5 separate regions of the Homo sapiens genome follow, and regions 2, 3, 4 and 5 are each linked to region 1. Evidence: promoter capture Hi-C in 16 types of primary human blood cells and fetal thymus (Javierre and others, 2016). All regions are on one chromosome and are shown on one strand. Each heading gives the region's core, a stretch centred on a gene start or on the middle of the fragment in contact. The rest is flanking DNA. Distances are from core to core; before and after follow the strand shown. Region 1 holds the start of ITLN2 (intelectin 2). Region 2 overlaps LOC124904440 (a long non-coding RNA gene). Region 3 overlaps SLAMF7 (SLAM family member 7). Region 4 has its middle 2.2 kb from the start of LY9. Region 5 overlaps LY9 (lymphocyte antigen 9).

Evidence for each region. The method cuts DNA at HindIII sites, captures the fragments that hold promoters and counts their contacts. A CHiCAGO score of 5 or more calls a contact.
Region 2: a fragment that was not itself captured here is called in contact with the fragment with the promoter of ITLN2 in region 1 in 10 of 17 cell types (naive B cells, non-activated CD4 T cells, total CD4 T cells and 7 more); the score reaches 12.0 in naive B cells.
Region 3: a contact is called between a fragment that was not itself captured here and the fragment with the promoter of ITLN2 in region 1, in 2 of 17 cell types (M2 macrophages and naive CD8 T cells). The highest score is 5.8, in M2 macrophages.
Region 4: a contact is called between a fragment that was not itself captured here and the fragment with the promoter of ITLN2 in region 1, in 2 of 17 cell types (naive CD8 T cells and M2 macrophages). The highest score is 5.6, in naive CD8 T cells.
Region 5: a contact is called between a fragment that was not itself captured here and the fragment with the promoter of ITLN2 in region 1, in 6 of 17 cell types (M2 macrophages, naive CD8 T cells, total CD8 T cells and 3 more). The highest score is 6.6, in M2 macrophages.

What each region holds. Positions count from the first base shown.
Region 1 is chr1:160,953,372-160,956,166 of GRCh38, reverse strand. It overlaps ITLN2 (intelectin 2), which reads left to right and starts at 1,358. Exons shown (of 8, transcript NM_080878.3): 1 at 1,358-1,440; 2 at 1,717-1,780. The coding sequence starts at 1,426. The HindIII fragment of the contact is 24,751 bases long and covers 1-2,795 here.
Region 2 is chr1:160,731,815-160,734,609 of GRCh38, reverse strand. It overlaps LOC124904440 (a long non-coding RNA gene), which reads left to right. Exons shown (of 2, transcript XR_007066687.1): 2 at 357-578. Among named protein-coding and RNA genes, the nearest start is that of SLAMF7, 6.0 kb to the left of the region's middle. RefSeq lists an enhancer at 2,214-2,333. The HindIII fragment of the contact is 884 bases long and covers 939-1,822 here.
Region 3 is chr1:160,752,692-160,755,486 of GRCh38, reverse strand. It overlaps SLAMF7 (SLAM family member 7), which reads right to left. Exons shown (of 7, transcript NM_021181.5): 7 at 666-2,381. The coding sequence ends at 2,310. Among named protein-coding and RNA genes, the nearest start is that of SLAMF7, 15 kb to the right of the region's middle. The HindIII fragment of the contact is 3,711 bases long and covers 1-2,795 here.
Region 4 is chr1:160,792,550-160,795,344 of GRCh38, reverse strand. No RefSeq gene overlaps it. Among named protein-coding and RNA genes, the nearest start is that of LY9, 2.2 kb to the left of the region's middle. The HindIII fragment of the contact is 974 bases long and covers 968-1,941 here.
Region 5 is chr1:160,810,681-160,813,475 of GRCh38, reverse strand. The region is part of intron 2 of LY9 (lymphocyte antigen 9); the gene reads right to left. Among named protein-coding and RNA genes, the nearest start is that of LY9, 16 kb to the right of the region's middle. The HindIII fragment of the contact is 1,273 bases long and covers 753-2,025 here.

The sequences.
Region 1 (2,795 bases), core at 109-2,608:
TTAGCTGGGCGTGGTGGTGGGTGCCTGTAATCCCAGTTACTCGGGAGGCTGAGACAGGAGAATCACTTGAACCTGGGAGGCGGGGGTTGCAGTAAGCTGAGACCATGCCATTGCACTCCAACCTGGGTGACAGAGTGAGGCTCTGTGTCAAAAAACAAAACAAAATAAAAAAAACCCATACGCATTTATTTAAAGGTAAAAGCCCATGATGTATGTACCTTACCTTCAAATGGTTCAGAAAAAAATTTTGTGTGTGTGGGTGTATTTTATATACATATATCTATATATATATAGAGAGAGAGAGAGAGAACACGAAAGATAAAGCAAATGGGGTGAAATATTAACAATAGTTGAATCTAGGTAAAGGGCATATATGTGGCTTTATATTATTGTTATTTTTGCAACATTTAATAAATTTCAAATTGTTTCTAAACAGAGTTAATAAAACAATAAAATTACAGCAGGATACATGCAATAATTAGTGTTTGGACAGTGTATAGTGGGACAAAGGAAGGATCCATCAGCTTTGTCTGGTGATGGGGGTGTCAGGGAAGGCCTCATAGAGAAATTGGAGGAAAGATTGGAAGGATGATGTCTTCTTTTCCCATTTATTTATTATTATTATTATTATTATTATTTTGAGGTGAAGTCTTGCTCTGTTGCCCAGGCTGGAGTGCAGTGGAGCAGTCTTGGCTCACTGCAACCTCCACCTCCTGGGTTCAAGCAGTTCTCCTGTCTCAGCCTCCAGAGTAGCTGGGATTACGGGTGCACGCCACTGCACCCAGCTAAATTTTTGTATTTTTAGTAGAGACAGGGTTGCACCATGTTGGCTGGTCTTGAACTCCTGACCTCAGGTAATCCGCCCACCTCGGCCTCCCAAAGCGCTATGATTATAGGTGTGAGCCACTGTGCCTGGCCAATTATTATTCTTAATTAATTAATTTATTTTTCATGAGGTGTCACCTCAGTCTAAAAGGATGATTTCTTGACAGAGTTGTGTCTAGGGGGCCAGGGCATCTGGGGGAGGTGGGAGAGGGAGAACGCAGGGGAGGATTGTGACCTATCCACGAATCTGATTAGATACTGCTACATTGTATGGCCTGCCTTGGCAAAGCAGGATGCCCCTCCTCAGATGGCGACAGTCACCTGTGTGGCCAGGAACACAGCTCCCTGCTCCTCCAGCCAGTCGCACGTCCTTTCTCATTTCCACGGTCCCAGGCTCAGGTACCCTCAGAGGGAAGGGCTTCAGAGGGAGGGGCTAGCAGCCTAGGCTGCTCAGGGTTGGGCTGGGCAGGGCTCAGGTGGTTTGGCTCTCCACAGCTCTCCACATAAAGGGACCAGCACTTCACCCTTCATCAGGATCCTCTGCAGGGGAGCTCCGAGTGTCCACAGGAAGGGAACTATCAGCTCCTGGCATCTGTAAGGATGCTGTCCATGCTGGTGAGAAAAATGTTTTTGATCCATGTGTGTGGGAGCAATGATGCCAGCTCAGGTCTCAGTTTTAGAGATTTAGAGTTTCAGGGAAATGAGCCCATGGCCCCTTGGGTATTTGTAGTGTTGGACAGCCGTGGGGCATATTCCAGGAGGTTTTAGAATGCTCATGAGCCCATCACTTTCCATTTGAGGATTCCTGACTCAGAAAGGTTAGGAAGTAAGAACGAGAGGATGACAAAGGAAGGGCCAGCCAGTGACCTTGTGCATCTTGTTTTTCCTTAGAGGACAATGACCAGACTCTGCTTCCTGTTATTCTTCTCTGTGGCCACCAGTGGGTGCAGTGCAGGTAAATGGCTTCTGAGAGTAGGAGCTGCAGTTTCCTGGGCTCCCCTCTGCTGTGCAGGGCCTGGAGGGAGTAGAGCTGGGCAGGGCTCTGAAGTCAAGGGTCAAAGGGGAAGTTCTGGAGAGGCAGGGAACCCAGGCTAGGCAGCCAACTTGAGGTGTGGACTGGGTGCTGATTTCTGGCCTCTCCTGGGGTCTGGTCTGAAGCAGTCAGGGTGTTAGCTCAGGTATTTCCTAGGGCTTGATTCTCTGCTTCTGTGGCTGTGAGGGGTTCATGGGGTGAGAGAGTAAGAACTGTGTCCCTGCTCAGCTGCTCTTGTGGCCTTGGCCTTGGGATCTCCAGAGGCAGCTGGGTGATCAGTGCTGTGTCCAGGGTACACCCTCCTCTAGTCGCAGAGGAGGATATTGTGAGAATAGAATCCTCACAATTCTATTCTTCCAGTAGGCACAATAGTGATATTTTTTCATTGATACTGGGTTTATTGTTTATTTCAATCCATCAGTTAAAAAAAGCACATTTACATATGTCATCTCATTTGATCTCCATGCGTATAAAGAAGTTATTAATGACATCTTAAAGATGAAGAAAAAGGATCAGAGATGTTAAGTGTCTGCTCAAGGAGGCACTGTCATCAGGGTTTGTCTGGATTTTACCTTGAGTCCTGTAATTTTTTTTTTTTTAGACGGAGTCTTGCTCTGTTGCCCAGGTTGGAGTGCGGTGGCGTGATGTCGGCTCACTGCAACCTCCGTCTCCTGGGTTAAAGAGCTTCTCCTGCCTCAGCCTCCCCAGTAGCTGGGATTACAGGTGTGCACCACCACACCCCAGCTAATTTTTGTATTTTTAGTAGAGATGGGGTTTCACCATATTGACCAGGCTGTTCTTGAACTCCTGATCTTGTGATCCACCCTCCTCGGCCTCCGAAAGTGCTGGGATTACCGGCATGAGCCACTGTGCCTGGCCTGAGTCCTGTAATTTTACACTTTTTCCCGCTCTGCCAGGCTTTTGGAATGATTTCTAG
Region 2 (2,795 bases), core at 131-2,630, 220 kb after region 1:
GGTTGACAACTTGTTTACTAATATTGACCTTATTTTCTTAAGAGCCAGAGAGGTATTTTCCCCAAAGTTACACAGCATTTTATTAGCACAGCCAAGCCAGAAACTAAAATATTGTGATGACCTCAAACCCAGTAATGTTTCCATTATGAGGTATCACCCATTTGTGCACCATACTAGTACAAATGTGGCAATGGCAGAAATAGTAGTTTTAAAGTGCCATGATTATGAATCCTGAAAATCTTGGCAAACAGAATGAGGATGGAGATGAGATATCCTGTATAAATTGACCTAGAGGTGATTTTGGAGCAGATATTTCATTCTCATTCAAACAATTTTACTCTTTTTCCATGTCTCAGCTTTCCTTATTCCTGAAAATGACCAAGCCAAGATTTCTGGGAAGATATGGAGAGAAACTATTATGAAATGGAAAGGGGCCTGAGCTGGGTGGAATGAGATCAGTGAAAAGTCCTGGGGGTACTCCACCAAAAAAACATCAAAAGAAGAACTGAAAATGAAAGTAAAGCCTATGTTGAATTAGAAAGTGACTGCCTTTGTAAAATAAAATTTAATTAAAAGCATTTGGTAGTTAATCATTCCCTCTTTCTTGAGACATTTTGGCCCATGAGACTGTACTCTCTCTTGGTTCCTTCCTTCCCAAGTGATATGGTTTGGATATTTATTCCCTCCAAATCTCACATTGGAATGTGATCCCCAGTGTTGGAGATGGGGCCTAGTGGGAAGTGTTTGGGTCATGAGGGTGGATCCCTCATGAATGGCTTGTTGCCCTCCCCATAGTAATAAGTGAGATTTCGCCCTATTAGTTCATGTGAGAGCTGGTTGTTTAAAAGAGCCTGGTGCCTTCTCCCCTCTCTCTTTTTCTCCCTCTCTCACCATATGACATGCCTGCTCCTCTTCATTTTCTGCCATGATTGTAAGCTTCCTGAAGCCCTCACCAGAAGCTGAGCAGATACACGTGCCATTCTTGTACAGCTTGCAGAATCATGAGCCAAATAAACCTCTTTTCTTTATAAATTACCCAGTCTTGGGTATTCCTTTATAGCAATGGAAAATGTCTCTGGGTTCAGTCCTTAGACTTACTCATTTTTTAATCTATCCTGATTCCTTAGGTGATCTCATTCAGTCTCTTGGTTTGAAATACCAAATTTTATTTCCAACTGTAACCTTTTTCTTGAATTCAAGTCTTGTATATCCAGCTACCTACTCAGAATCTCCATTTGGATATTTAAAAGGCATCTAAAACTTCACATGTGCCAATCAAACTCCTGTTTGCCTACCTTCTACCTCCTCCTCCATCTGTGTTCTCCAACTCAGTAAACTGCAGCTCCAATCACTCAGGTTTTCAGGACAGAAAATTATAATTATCCATGACTCCCCTTTCTTATCCCCATATCCATCCATCAGAAAATTCTATTGACTTTGCCTTGGAAAAAATGCCTAGAACCTGATAACTTCTCATTGCCTTCACCACCTTCGCCACTACCATCTCTCACCTGCACTACTGCAACAGCCGCCTAACTAGTCTCCTTGCCTCTATCTTTGTCCCCTATAATGTATTTTTCACAGGCTACTAAAGTGATTCTTTAAACACATAAGTCAGATCATGTTGTTCCTCTGCTTGCCAGTTGTCTCCCATAGCTCTTTGAATAAAATACAAACTTCTTCCCAGGGCCTCCAAGACCCCATATGATGGTTCTTGGCTACCTTTTTAATGTCATCTCCCATCACTTTCCCCTGACGTATTCCACACCTGTCACACTAACCACCTCAATGTTCTTGAATATTCCAAGCACACTCCAAAGCTTTTGCACTAGAGGAGGGCCCTTCCCCAGATGACCATATGGCTATCTCTTTCTTGAGATCTACTCAGTGTCACCTATCAGACAGGGGCTCCTGTGCCCCTATAGAACATCACTCCCTGATCTTTTACTCTCTATCTCCTTACCCTGCCTTATTATTATTTTTTCCTTCTAGGATCTGCTACCCTAAAATCTAAGAAGCATCAGAAGAAGGACTTTGTCTGCTTTGTTTGCTGCCCTATCCCCAGTAACTAGAAGAGTGCCTGGTATATAGCAGACCTTCAATATGTATATCAAATGAGTAAGTGGGTGTCCTGAGCAATAAAAATTGAGTAATTATGAATGATATGCAGCATTTTCTTCTTTGTATTTGGAGAAGAAAATTAGGAGCACAAAACTGTGTGATTTCTCAGGCCCTCATGACTGCATCTTTTGTGAGATTGGTATGATGGTAGAGCAGAGTGTGGGGGAAAATTTAGAAACTCCAGAAAGTTGAGAGAAAATTTAGAAAGAATGCTTCTGCTTTTCTGGGGGTGGGGGGAGTTTGTGTCATCTCAAATTGAGAAACTGTTGTTGCTTATTTAAGCCACCCTTAACAGTACTGTAAACAACTAGTGTAGTTTTAAAAACAGCATTTCATGCAAATCAAAACCACAAGGAGATACTATCTCATGCCGGTTAGAATGGTGATCATTAAAAAGTCAGGAAACAACAGATGCTGGAGAGGATGTGGAGAAATAGGAATGCTTTTACACTGTTGGTGTGAGTGTAAGTTAGTGCAACCATTGTGGAAGACAGTGTGGCCATTCCTCAAGGAGCTAGAACCAGAAACACCATTTGACCCAACAATCCCATTACTGGGTATATACCCAAAGGATTATAAGTCATTCTACTATAAAGACACATGCACATGTTATGTTTATTGCAGCACTGTTCACAATAGCAAAGACTTGGAACCAACCCAAATGCCCATCAATG
Region 3 (2,795 bases), core at 128-2,627, 200 kb after region 1:
CCCATAGTTTTTTTTAAACAATTTTTTTTTTTTTTTGAGACAGAATCTCACTCTATCATCCAGGCTGGAGTGCAGTGGTGCGATCTCGGCTCACTGCAACCTCCACCTCCCGGGTTCAAGAGATCCTCCTGCCTCAGCCTCCCAAGTAGCTGGGACCACAGGCACATGCTAAAAATTTGTTATTTTTAATTTTATTTTTGATTCAGAAGCTACATGTGTAGGTTACACAGGTATATTTCATGATGCTGAGTATAACCCATAATTCTTTTTTTGAGATGGAGTCTTGCTCTGTCGCCTAGGCTGGAGTGCAGTGGCGCGATCTTGGCTCACTGCAACCTCCCCGTCCTGGGTTCAAGCAATTCTCCTCCCTCTGCCTCCCAAGAAGCTGGGATTACAGGGGCTCACCACCATGCCCGGCTAATATTTTTTGTATTTTTAGTAGAGACGGGGTTTCATCATGTTGGCCAGGCTGTTCTTGAACTCCTGACCTCAAGTAATCCACCTGCCTCGGCCTCCCAAAGTGCTGGGATTACAGGCGTGAGCCACTGCTCCCGGCCTAACCCATAATTCTTAATGTCTATGTATGAACAGACCTTCACCTGTGGTGGTCAGTTTCTTTGGCAGTTTCCAGAATTTCACTATTGCAAATAGCAAAATAATGCATCTTTTTGTATGTGAATCTCACAATATCTGTTTTATTAAGATAGTAAAGAAGACTTTTTTACTACAATAGGGTTTTGCAGTAGGGAGAGAGATCTGGCTCAATTCCTTCACAATGCCTTTCTGAGAGAAGATAATCCTCAATCCCATTCTTGCCCAACAAGCATTTGTTATTAAGTTTTTCAACACTTTCATCACTTGGTAGGGAGGTCTCCATTCAAGATATGTGTCAGGGAACATATCAAAAGCAGCCATTCCCCTTTCCCCTTCCCCATGTTTTTCACTTAAGTATAAGAGATGGTGAGCTCTGTATTGGTAGGGATGTTCATCTTACGTGCCAGACTGACCTAGCACAGGTGTTTGTTTGTTTGTTTGTATTGGAGTTTTGCTCTCGTTGCCTAGGCCGGAGTGCAGTGGTGCCATCTCAGCTCACTGCAACCTCCACCTCCCAGGTTCAAGCGATTCTCATGCCTTGGCCTCTCGAGTAGCTGGGATTACAGGTGCACACCACCACGCTCAGCAAATTTTTGTATCTTTAGTAGAGATGGGGTTTCACCATGTTGGCCAGGCTGGTCTTGAACTCCTGACCTCAGATGACCCACCCACCTTGGCCTCCCAAAGTGCTGGGATTACAGGTGTGAGCCACCATGCCGGGCCGCATAGGTTCTTAATAAATATCTATTGAATGAATTAACCATCTTTAAAGGTTTACAAGTACCCACTGCCCCCCGTGCCCCACCAGTCTCACTGCCTGACTCCAAGTCTCCTACACTAGATTTACAATGTGACTTCAGACTCGGTCTCTTTATTGGGATGGGTTCTGGCACAGCCTTAAAACCTAGACTTTTCTTTTGCAGCACAAGTGCATAAATGAAGCCTGGCTGGAGGTCCTTGTCCTTGGGCCATGCACACTTCTGTGTCTCCATTATAGTATCTGCCAAACATGGTCAGCTACCCTGATTCTTCATCTTTGTGAACTTTGACCTTCAAGTCCTGTGGATCCACACCTGGCCCTCTGGGAATCTGTGGTCAGGCCTGCTACAACTGCTCATGAAAGTAGTTCATTCATTTGGAGCCAATTTCATGAGGGCAGACAGCATGTCTGACCAATTAGTGTAAGCTCAGCATAGTGCTGGGCACATAGTTTATAGAGCCAATTAATACATCCATTTTTGTCAGGTGCATCTGCTTCTGCTGGACTTGTCTGTCTGTTTTGGTCTTCTTGCCCTCCTGGTAGCAAGACTCTTGGTATAATCCTGACATCCAAGCCCTGGGATGGAATGAAACTCCAGACACTGACCTGGAGCCATCATTAATACAACAGGCTGTCATTAATATGTGTGACCTTGCATTTACATTTTTATAGGAATACTTCTAAGCACTTTTTTTATGGTTTGCTGACATTCACAATCCCATTTTTGGGATGAAGTGATTAAACCTTCTGGGTTTGAGGAGATTTCTCAGCAGTGGATGGAATTATGAACTCTTAAATCTAAAGAAGCATCAGAGATAATTTATCCTGGAAAAAAGTCAACGTTCTTCATTCTTCCTTGATGTTTCTAGTCAAATCAGTGAATTCTTCTGATTGTTTTCTTTGGGCCGAGAATTGTTTTTTTTTTGAGCAGAGACTTAGGGGAGTGCACTGCTGTCTAGATAACATTCTCATAGGCAAATAGCCTTGGTGTGTCTGGCATCGTGAGCAGTGAGTGGGGATTTTCCATCTGAAGACAGACAAAAAGAAAGTAGAGTGAGGGAGGTGAGCAGGGCTCTGGATCGTCCATGGAGACCCTGACATCCAGGAAACTTTATTTCCAAGGTTACCCAACCCAAATCGGCTGGCATGCTGGCTCCCACTGTTTGATTTTAATCACCCCTAGCTTAGAGAAACTATTCTGTAAGTTTAACGCATATTTATCTTGCTGAATGCTTAATGAACTGAACTTTCCTTGTTCAGTTGTAATAATTCACTAAACCAACCTTTTCTATTACTAAGCAAACTGCTTTAATGATTCTTATCTTTTTGGATCTGTTTGGGAGAGGAAGAAAAAGGAGACAGAAAGATACCATTACTGCTGCCAACCGTACTCTGTGAAGGAATAAGCCTTAAAGCTACTGCATTAGTAGTTTAACTGAGG
Region 4 (2,795 bases), core at 205-2,704, 160 kb after region 1:
GTTTGGTTTTTAAATTTTTTTTCAATTTTTTATTTTTCATCAAAAATGCTTATTGTTTTTAGCTGTGAAGTTTGGGGCAATTTGTTACACAGCAACAGATAACTAATACAGTGACCCAATACATTTTCTATTTTGCTCAAGGCAGTTTGTGCTAGCTTTCTGTCACATGCAATGAAGGACTTTTAATATGGACAAAGGCATCAGGGAGACTGCAATGGGGGTGGACATCGTATGTGACAGCGTAGAGGTGACTGAGTTGAAAAGGTAGGCTGGAGAATGGCATGATTCCCTATATCCTGACTTGGGAAACTGTCTTTTTCTCCTCCTTCTTCTTGTCAGTAGCGTAATAGCTGGCCATGCTATGGTTTGTGTTTCGGGCTTCAGGTCATTTGTTTACTTAGGCTGTAACATTAAGGGGACTTGGCAGGAAAACTTGAGGCTGGCAGAATGTGTAGTTTTAGCTAATATTCGATGAAAGCTTACAGAGTGCTAGTCCATCTTCTGACACTTTAACATATTCACTCATTTGATCTTACAATAGTTTTATGAGATATCTTTTATCATCCCCATTCTATAAATGAGAAAACTGAGGTGGAGAGGGGTTAAATAGCTTACTATAAGTTTTATAGTTAGTAAGGACTTGAACCCAGGAAGTCTGGGTTCAAAGGAAGAAGGGAGAGAGAGAGAGAAACCATTAAGATAACAGGCTTATGTCCATGGAAAGCATCTTTAGAGGCTGGTCATGATCTGATGTTGCACAATATTGAAAGTGACAGAATCTCGAAAATCTTTAAATTTTGTGCACTAGGAGCGTGTCTTGTTTCACTCTAGCCTTGGTCCTGTGACTAGAACATGGGCTGTCTAGAGGGGATTGCAGGACATACGGTCAGGAGAGGTTACCAGAGCCCAGATAAAGCATCCTGTTACCAAGCTAAAGGCAACAAGAATCCAGTAGGAGTAGGAAGCTTCCTGGAGCTGCAGAGTGGAGGGAGAATGGGTGGAAGGGATGAGCCTGGGGATGAGAAGACAGGTGCGGAAGCTATTGAAGGAGTCTGGGTACAGAACATGAGAGCAGGAACAGTCTGCATGGGAGGCGAGGGCAAAGGCAGAAGGGAATTCAGAGAGATTGGTAATAATAAAAATCATTACTAACATTTATTGGGTAATTACTATGAGTGAGCCTCTGTGTTTAGAACTTTACATATGTTTTCTCCTTTAATCCTAAGATAGACCCTATTTGGATGATACTCCAATTATCCCCATTTTAGAGATGAGAAAACTGAGATTTAGGAAAGTAACATCACTGAAATGACCTCCTTTGAAGTTGTGACCATAGGAGGACACAGCCTTATAATACACAAAATCCAATTTAAGTATTATCATTTAAGTATAGTAAAACCTAAATTAATATAAATTTTGGTATGATGCATTTGTTAAGTGTGCCCTGTCCTCACATGGGGAGGGCTAATATTCTCATCAGGACAGGGAGGCAAAGGCACTAGCATTGGGAATCAGGGAGCAACATCCAGTGATGCTGGCCCCGGCGTCTCCAGTGTTGTCCTTCTCAGTATACTTCAACCACCCCAGCAAGTGGGTGTGACTGACTGGAAAATTTTTGAAATCCCTGCTACTGTCCTTGGAGTCCCGCCAGCTACAGGCCCAGAATCACCCCTGTCAACTGGGCATTGCCTCCAGGTAGCATCAGACTCCAGCCTGGGTTGAGATTTGGGTCTGGCAGCCACAACCACATACTCAGCTGTGTTGCTTCACCACCAGCCCCCAACCAACACTTCATTCACTGTGCAATTAAGACGACCCTGCATTTTACACAATTGCATTTTTTGGACTTTATTTCTAATGTTGTCTTGACTTGCAGTATATATATGCTACTACAGATTGGAAGAATATGAAAGACTGTAGAATTTTGACAAGCTCAAAGCTTTTTACACTTAGATGGAAAGACAAATATATGTTAGGAGCTAAAGAAATTCAACATCAAATCAACTGCTGCAGCCACAGTAGAGGGAAGAATTAGGGAATGTCACAGTGTTCAAGTGGAATCTAGGGATATAGGCTATGAGACCAGCCTTTTAGAGGGTAGCAACAAAACAAGCAAAAAGTGGTGCTGCCAGCTGGGCACATTGGCTCACGCCTGTAATCTCAGCACTTTGGGAGGCCGAGGTGGGCAGATCACGTGAGGTCAGGAGCTCAGGACCAGCCTGACCAATATGGAGAAACCCTGTCTCTATTAAAAATACAAAATTATTGGGAGGCGGAGGCGGGCGGATCACGATGTCAGGAGATCGAGACCATCCTGGCTAACATGGTGAAACCCCGTCTCTACTAAAAAAAAAAAACAAAAAACAAAAAAACAAAATTAGCCGGGTGTGGTGGCACGCGCCTGTAATCCCAGCTACTGGGGAGGCTGAGGAAGGAGAATCGCTTGAACCTGGGAGGCGGAGGTTGCGGTGAGCCGAGATTGTGCCATTGCACTGCAGCCTGGGCAACAAGAGCGAAACTCCACCTCAAAAAAAAAGGGGTGCTGGTAATACCATTAGTTAACATGTCAGTGATATTTCTGGTCATTAAGCAACTTTAGCTAATTGAGAAGGTACCCCAGGAAATGGCTGTAAATGGGATGACATAATTGTTTCTTTTGTGGTTATGAATCTTTCAATCCTGGGAAAATAAGGAATACAAAATAGACATGTTCAAGGTAATCAGTTAGTATTTTTTAAGTATATGTATTGTTTGAGGAAATTTAGTTCATTAAAATTGTAGTAAACTTTGTTGCC
Region 5 (2,795 bases), core at 140-2,639, 140 kb after region 1:
CCTCTGTACTCCCATAACATCCGCTACAGGTGTTATCACCATGACTCAGCATGACTAATAGTCTGATTACTTCTCTCTCTCCCCGACCAGTGTAAGAACTCCTTGATGACAGGGCTGATTCCTGTGTCTGAACATCTAACACCCAGCCTGCCTTATGAAAAACACTCATGAATGTTCAATGAATAAATAGGTGAATGGCCCAGCCCCAAACGCTATGGAGTGGGGACCTCTGCTTCTAGAATTTGAGTTGCCCGTGTCTTTGGTCTGAATTTAGGATGCATTGTGCTTCTAGATCTTCTTCCTTGTCTTCTCCTTTCCTTTTGTTCCATCTCCACTGCTCACCATGTATGTGCACATGTGTGAATGTTTCATTAAGTTATATTTCTTTTTTGAGACAGAGTCTCACTCTGTTACCCAGGCTAGAGTGCAGTGGCGTGATCACTGCTCACTGCAACCTCTGCCTCCTGGGTTCAAGCGATTCTCCTGCCTCAGCCTCCTGAGTAGCTGGGATTACAGGCACACAGCACCACACCCGGCTAATTTTTGTATTTTTAGTAGAGATGAAGTTTCACCAGTTGGCCAGGCTGGTCTCGAACTCCTGACCTCAGGTGATCTGTCTGCCTTGGCCTCCCAAAGTGCTGGGATTACAGGCATGAGCCACTGCACCTGGCCCAATATTTCTTCTTTTGAATAGGTAATACATTAAAAAAAATTGAGAAAATACCAAAGCTACATAATGAAAAAAGTAAGCTTTCTAGCCTCCAGCCATTTATTTCATCTCCCCAAGAATTACTATTCCTGGAGGCAATTACTGTTATGGGTTTCTTGTTGATCTTTCCAGAGGTATTCTAGATATAGACAGATATATGCATACTTTACACACTGTTTTGAACCTTAAAAAATTAACAATATATCTTGGAAATTATTGTACGTCATTTGTCAACACATGTGGAGTTGATTCATTCTAATTCTATTAACTGCACAGAATTCCGTTTCCTTAATAGATACAGAATACCCTACAAATCAATGAAAACGGTCAAATTATCTGATAGAAAGATGGTGTTATGAGCTAAACTGTGTCTCTGCAAAGTTTAGATGTTGAAGTCTTAACCTCTAGCACCTCAGAATGTGACCGTATTTGAAGATAGAACTATATTTGGAGATAGAAGTAATTAAGTTAAAATGGGGCCATTAGGGTGGGCCCTAGTCTGATATGAGTGGTATCCTTATAAGAAGATGAGATTAGAGCACAGACAATATAGACAGAGGGACACCCATGTGAAGACATGGAGAGAAAGTGGCCATGTGGGAGCCAAGGAGAGAGGCCGCAGAAGAAACCAAGCCGCTGATACCTTCATTGGCCTCCAGAATTGTGTTCTGGAGAAATGTGGAATACGTTTCTGTTGTTTAAGCTAGTCAGTCTGCAGTATTTTGTTATGGCAGCCCTAGAAAACTAACACAGATTTTGATACCAGAAGTGGGATGAAGCTCTAAAAATCTAAAAATGTGAAGTGGCTTTGGAATGGGCTGATGGGTGGAGATTGGAAGAATTTTGAGGTGTGTGCTAGAAAAATCCTAGATTGTCTTCAAGAGACTCTGGGTAGAAACATGAATGTTAACGAAAATTTGGGTGAGCACTCAGAAAGAAAATAGGAACACTGCAGGGAATGCTGCTATTACCTTAGAGATATACATATGTGATCATGAGCAGAATGTTGGTAAAAATATAAATATTAAATGTGTTGCTGGTGAGGTCTCAGACAGAAATTAGAAATATGTTACTGGAAACTGGAGGAAAGGGCATACTTGTTGTAAAGTGGCAAAGAACTCGGCCACGTTGTATTCTAGTGTTTTGTGGAAAGCAGAATGTTTAAGTGATAAATTTGGGTACTTAGCTGTGGAGATTTCTAATCAAAGAGCTGAAGGCACTGCCTAGTTTCTCCTTGCTACTTATATAAAATGTGAGAAGAGAGAGAGAGGTTAAATAAGGAATTGTCAAGCAAGATGGAGCCAGAACTTAAAGCTTTGAAAAAATGTCACCTATTCATATTGCGAAAAACGAGAAAGTGTGTCTGGAGAGAACACAAAGATTGTGGCTTGGCAATGTTTGCTAAAGAGGTTATGAGATTTGACCACCTCAGCAGAAATGCTGCCAGTCTGGACTGTAAGGGACAGAGACAGGACAAATGAAGGAGTGTGTCAGGCTTCTGGGATTTTATGAAATAAGTCAATACAGCTGTACAGCTGCAAATATGTATTATCCTTCAAGAAAAGGGAAGAGTGACCCCACAGGCAGTTCAGAAGTAGGCAGAGCTGCCACTGCCACCATAGGCCTAGAGGGCACAAGCCTTGGGTAGGGTGAGGTGGTTTCCTCCTTGGTTCCAGGGGGCAGAACTGCCGCTCAGGGCCAAGGAGGTGGGGCTGCTACTCCAGTGGGCCCAGAGGATAGAGCACTGAGCCAAAGAGTATTATGCTTGAGCCTTAAAATCTAATGGAATTTACCCTGTTAGGTTTTGGACTTGTTTGGGACCTGTGACTTTTTTCTTCTTCCCAATGTCTCTCTTTTGGAATGGCAATGTCTATTCCATACCTGTTCCACCATTGAATTTTGGAGGCAGATAACTTCTCTGGTTTTGCAGGTTCACAACTGAAGAAGAATTTTGCCTCAGGGTGAATCATATCTCAAGTCTCACCCATACCTGATTTAAATAATATTTAGATGGATTTTGGACTTACAGTTGATGCTGGAATGGGTTAAAACTTCTGGTATTGTTGGAATGTGGTGAATGTATTTT